Linked DNA regions of Homo sapiens: region 2 is linked to region 1. Evidence: promoter capture Hi-C in 16 types of primary human blood cells and fetal thymus (Javierre and others, 2016). All regions are on one chromosome and are shown on one strand. Each heading gives the region's core, a stretch centred on a gene start or on the middle of the fragment in contact. The rest is flanking DNA. Distances are from core to core; before and after follow the strand shown. Region 1 holds the start of TAF9 (TATA-box binding protein associated factor 9). Region 2 holds the start of IPO11 (importin 11).

What was found. Contacts are between HindIII fragments. The CHiCAGO score rates a contact against its expected background, and 5 or more counts as called.
Region 2: a fragment that was not itself captured here is called in contact with the fragment with the promoter of TAF9 in region 1 in 2 of 17 cell types (naive CD4 T cells and total B cells); the score reaches 7.5 in naive CD4 T cells.

What each region holds. Positions count from the first base shown.
Region 1 is chr5:69,368,070-69,370,769 of GRCh38, forward strand. TAF9 (TATA-box binding protein associated factor 9) reads right to left here and starts at 1,451. Exons shown (of 3, transcript NM_003187.5): 1 at 1,394-1,451. AK6 (adenylate kinase 6) reads right to left here and starts at 1,451. Exons shown (of 5, transcript NM_016283.5): 1 at 1,394-1,451. The coding sequence starts at 1,421. It overlaps RAD17 (RAD17 checkpoint clamp loader component), which reads left to right and starts at 1,749. Exons shown (of 19, transcript NM_133338.3): 1 at 1,749-1,864. RefSeq lists an enhancer at 2,003-2,552. The HindIII fragment of the contact is 4,867 bases long and covers 1-1,932 here.
Region 2 is chr5:62,412,278-62,414,977 of GRCh38, forward strand. IPO11 (importin 11) reads left to right here and starts at 486. Exons shown (of 30, transcript NM_016338.5): 1 at 486-652. RefSeq lists an enhancer at 407-596 and a silencer at 927-976. The HindIII fragment of the contact is 2,111 bases long and covers 212-2,322 here.

The sequences.
Region 1 (2,700 bases), core at 201-2,700:
ACTGACCCCTTGCGCCCTTCCCTAGAGATAACCACTGTAAACCAGTTTCCTTTCCCAAAGAAACCCTATTTATGTTTGCATGTAAATGTACATATATGTACATACTCTTTGTTATATAAATACAACACATATTCCCTTTTACATAAATGACAATACTATATACATTGTTCTTTACCTTCCCCTTCTGATACCTATTAAAATTACATTTCAAGATCATCAAATTCATAATTTTCAGCTATTCAGATTTAACATCCCTGAAATTAAACTTAAGCATAAAGATAACAGGGATAATCCAGTTCCCATACCCAGGAGAATAACGGTCACCTCAAGTCCACTATAATACACCAAGTCTGAACCCTGGACTCAACATGTTTTCAATAAAATGTTCACTTTAAAGTTTTGACAATGACTTAATAACCAGGGCACTATGTTTGATCCATGCAAAAAGATGTAAAATCTTCCGCTTAAGGAATCTAAAATTCTAAACGTTATTTGTGGGGTGGTTAATCTGCACCTCTCAGAAACAGACATGTCTTGTGCGCTGCCAACAATTTTACCTTTGGGTGAATGATGTAACTTTACTGTTCCCACAAAGAGTCTTAATTTTTCTGTACCTTGCAATAAAATCTACATGCATTAGATTTTTCCACGAATGGCCTACAATTTGATAAACACTTTCAGGACTAAACGGCTAGCAAAAATATTCGTTAAAGTCGTTATGCAGCATTTTAATTCCCTTCACTGATAACATGCACCCTGAGTATGGCTTCAAAGACCCACTCCTACGCGAGAAACGACCCGAAATGCTCTATATGCCTTCCTTTTAAGGGGCGGGGGGATCCTTTGATGTAACTCAACAAAAGCATACAGCAATTTCGTCACGTCACAAACATCTGAACTCGTTTACCGAAATCTAATCTGAGGCGTTTATCAGAAGCAAAGAAAAAATAAAATACGGCCCACGGAGGCCTAAGGAGTGAGGCATCCACCATTAATGACTCTACCGGGAAGCAGATATGGCCTTACGTTATTTCGCTAAAAATCCCAAGGCCAACCCTGCCAAAGAATCAACAACCCATTTTACAAACGAAATACCAGATTCAGAAAGACTAAGCAGGTTGCCAAGCTGGAGAGCTGGATCTGCCGACCTCTCTCCACCCCCCCCCGCCCCCCCCCGGAGCCTCAGGCCAACGGAATTAACGTTCCGCGTCCCCTCCCTCGCCTCCCGCAACGCCCGCGAGGGTCGGCTCCCGGGGCGCTGACAACCGCCTCGTGGCCCTCGGCCGGCCTCTGAAGAGGGCAGTGAGGGGCCCCCACCTGGGCGCCCGATGCCCAGAGCACTCTGCGCCCCCAGCCTGCCCCAGCCCAGTCCCTCCCGGCCGCGCGCCCTGACCGGTGAGCAGGATGTTCGGAAGCAACATGGTCCCCGCCGCGACGGCTTCGGGCGCCTCGCTCACGTGCCCTTTGCTCTACAGGGAGGAGCCGGAAGGGGCGGGCGGCAGCAAAAGCCCACGGCCCCAAAGGCCCCGAAGCCCACCGCGGCGCCCCTAGCCTGCCCCGGCGGCCCAGCCGCGGCCCACTGGTTACCTGGCTTTCGATGACACATTTCCGTCGCAAAGTTGGAGGGTGGGCATAACTCGGGTCGGTACTTCGGGTCAGGCAGTGCGCTGGATGCCTAAGTCACACACTCCTTCGGTGGTCCCCGCCCTTCGCTTGCGCCGACCAGTCTGGAAGGTCCCCGGGAGGCCGTACCTCCGAGAGGCTCGGCGTTGAGCCCGGGTAGGGCCAGGTGGCTGCCCTTTCACCTAGGGTAGTCCCTGGTCGCCTCCGCTCTTCGCCTAAAAGGGGATGCAGCTCCGGGAAAGTAAGGCCGCCGCGGTTGCGGCTATATTATGTATATGTCTTAGAGACGTGAGTCTATCTCTGCCTTCAAGCTTTCCTGGGCTCTCGTCGCTCCTCCTCCCGACCCGCCCATCCCATCTGGGGATGAGAAGATTGAGGGTGCAGAGCCCTGTCCTGCAGCGGGGATTTGCGAGCTCAACCCGGCACCCCACTGATTACAGGATTACGTTGGACGAATATTTGAGCTTAGTATTCCCTGTTCACTGTGTGGGGTGGTGGTGGGTCGGCTAGGAATAGTCTTGAAGGTCTACCTCTGACATCTCATTTCAGTAACCTCGCATCTTCAGGGACAGTTATCTGCTTTTTAAAGGAGGTAATTGTCAATCTTGTTTTCAAGAGTGAATAGAGACCTGACCGTGACAACAGTCTGCACCTTTTTTTGTTTGTTTGTTTGTTTTTGTTTTGTTTTGAGACGGAGTCTCACTCTTGTCGCCCAGGCTGGAGTGCAACCTCCGCCTCCTGGGTTCAAGTGATTCTCCTGCCTTAGCCTCCAGAGTAGCTGGGATTACAGGCGCCCACCACCACGCCCGGCTAATTTTTGCATTTTTAATAGAGACGGGGTTTCACCATGTTTTGGCCAGGCTGGTCTCAAACTCCTGACCTCAGATGATCCGCCCGCCTCGTCCTCCCACGGTGCTGGGATTACAGGCATGAGCCACCGCGTCCGGCCCCTGGTCTGCATCTTTTATTTCGAGCTACAAACTATATTTACTCAAATAGGTGTTTTTTTTCCACCTGTATACCTTTTGAAACGTCACAGTCTCTAATCGTGAACGATTTGGGGCGGAGGGCTGAACA
Region 2 (2,700 bases), core at 17-2,516, 7.0 Mb before region 1:
GCAAGCAGAACTGGATTTATGTCCTTTTACATTTTTCCACTCTTGCTATTACTCAGGAGTAAGCGCCAAGCAATTTGGGTAACTTAAAAAATAAATATTTGCGGGAGGGAGGGTGGACTGATGGGAGTAAGATTCTTTAAATAACTCTTCTCTGCTGTGACGGATCCGCTATTGATATCTAGAATATAAAGCGTGAAATGGTTCTGATTGAAGCTTCAATCAACGCAGGAAACAATTGAGCTCCCTGGGAGTCGGAGAAACCAGACCTATGGTTTCCATGGTGACAGATCCGGCTAGTCCGGACTCCTGGCTCTTTATACTGCGCAAGCGCACTGCGCAAGCGCACACAACTGATTTGGATACCCCGCGCCTTTTGGTTCAAAGACAAAGCCCCTCCTTCCCCTTCCCGCCGTTCGCCTATCGCCTTCTCTCTCTGCCGGTCGCATGCGCGCTGGTCTCCTGTGACGTAGTTTTCGCGCGTCCGCGTCGTTTGGAGCTGCGACGCCAAACATGGCGTGTTCCTAGAAGCCGCTTTCGGCATCAGTAGGCGGCGGCGTGGGGTCTGGCAGCGTGGGGAGAGGGACCAACCGACGCCACTTCGTGTTGGGAAGTGGGAGCGGGAGGGCCGGGCAATTCCCGACCGAACCAAACGGTGAGGCCCCGGCCCGAGAGCCACCGAGCGCGCGGGAGTGGAAGGGAGTGGGTTGGGCACCCGAGTCCCGAGAGGCGGGAGGAAAGTGGGGCTACCAGGAGATGAGGGATAACGGTAGCGAGGCAAGGGCGGCCTGCAGACTTGGCTGTTTGCGCAACCTTAGGAACCCGGGGAACTGGGGGCTGGCCGAGGCAGCCCGGGAGTGGGCAGCATGGTAGTGGAGCAATCAGGGTGCGGGGTGGGAGGGACCGTATGCTAGGCTGAGCAGAGGCGAGTGTACCCATCGTGACCGCGGTTGCGGACCTGGGTGATGCATTTGCCCTTGGGGGATAGGTGGTGCAAATTTTGAGATAAAGTGGTTATCTCGAGTATAAGACCGTTGTGCATTGTTACTGCGCACGCGACCTTGTTGCTAATAGCAATAGTGTGATAGCTTTAAACATTAGACCCTTACATGCTTTTAATGAAAAAGTGAAGGTAGTTGTCCGTTTATAGAGAGGAGCTTCATGGAGAGGTATGGCCGCCAATTCTCAAGCTCAGCGACTCCTGTAGATTTATATTTGGGGGTATTTGTGATTCAGCAAAACTACTTTTGCTTATTACGTGTGTCATTTTTTCTTTATTATTTTGTGACATGTTGGTGAATGAGAGAAGTACTATCTGAAAGTGATTTGACTAAATAGCAAGGACTGGTAAATTACCTACTAGTGCCAAGGTTGCAGTTGACATACCTCCTCCCCTCCATAATTTAAACGAGCTCAGTTGTAGCGCGGTAGTGCCCTTCAGATTTCGGTTATTCTTCAGAAGGAAGAATAGTTTGTAGCCATAATGCTTTTCCCCCTCCTGGGATAGGAATTTTCTTCCTCCATTTTCATGTTATTTCAAACTTCTCTGTTCAGTAGAGGAGCTTCAGATTAAGGGCAGGGTGACTCTTCTATAGGAGACATCCATTGCATGACACATATTACATCTTTCATCACTGAGGAAAATTTCGGTGAAAGTAGAAACATTTTCCCTTTTGGTTATGATGGGACTGGTATTTTCTCTGTTTCTGCAGTAACCTAGCACAGGGTATAGTAGAAACAATTAATTATAGTAGTGGCTTGTGGCCATATATTATAGTCTCAGGGTAGGAGGGTGGTCTCCGCCCTAGTTGAACTTCTAAGGCCAAAGAGAATTTTCACCACAAACACATTTGGCTGTGGTAATGTTAGAGGTTTTAAACAAATATGTAAAGATTATCTGATCATTAATAGAACAATTTTTAGATTTTGTGATGTTTGAATATATTTGCATTTGGAATCAAACCAGAATGCAGCATGATCCTTGTAGGCATGTGGCTATTAAAATACACTGAAGATTTTTCCAGAAACAAAATTTTTTTTTCTCAGCAATAAAAATATTCAAATTTTGGGTAAGGTAATGTTTGATTATTTGGATTTTGACCTTTGTGTTATATATTTGTACCTGTGTGTGTGTATGTATGTAACCTCACTTCTAATTTAGTGTTATTGATGGTAATATTTTTTCCTTTCTTTATCAGCTTCAAATAGGGACTGTTAATTTCAGAGCGTTTAAGGAATGGCAAAACACATTTAGTGCTGGTGTGAGTCTGTAGTGTGTTTGGTTTGCTGACTATCAGACTTATTACAGATAAGTCCACAGTTATAAGCTTTGTAGAGCTTAAGTTGCATCAGTGTTCTTTACCCTTGCTACTCAAATTGTGGTATATAGCATCACCTGGGAGTTTATTAGAAATGCATGATCTCAGGCTCAATCCAGAGCTGCTGAATCAAAATCTGCAATTTTAACAAGTTATCTAGATGAAAGGAATGTTCAATAAATCTTGAGATGCACTACTTTGGTTGGTAACAGTTGAAGAACACTGAGGTAATGCACAAACCGGTATAAAAATTTATAGCATCATTTATTTTAATCTGAGGTGATCTTATGCTGATTATCCAGTCTGATGAAACTGAGGCCCAGAAAGGTAAGTGCCTTGCATAAGGTCACACATACCTAGATTTATAACCCAGATTCCAACTCAT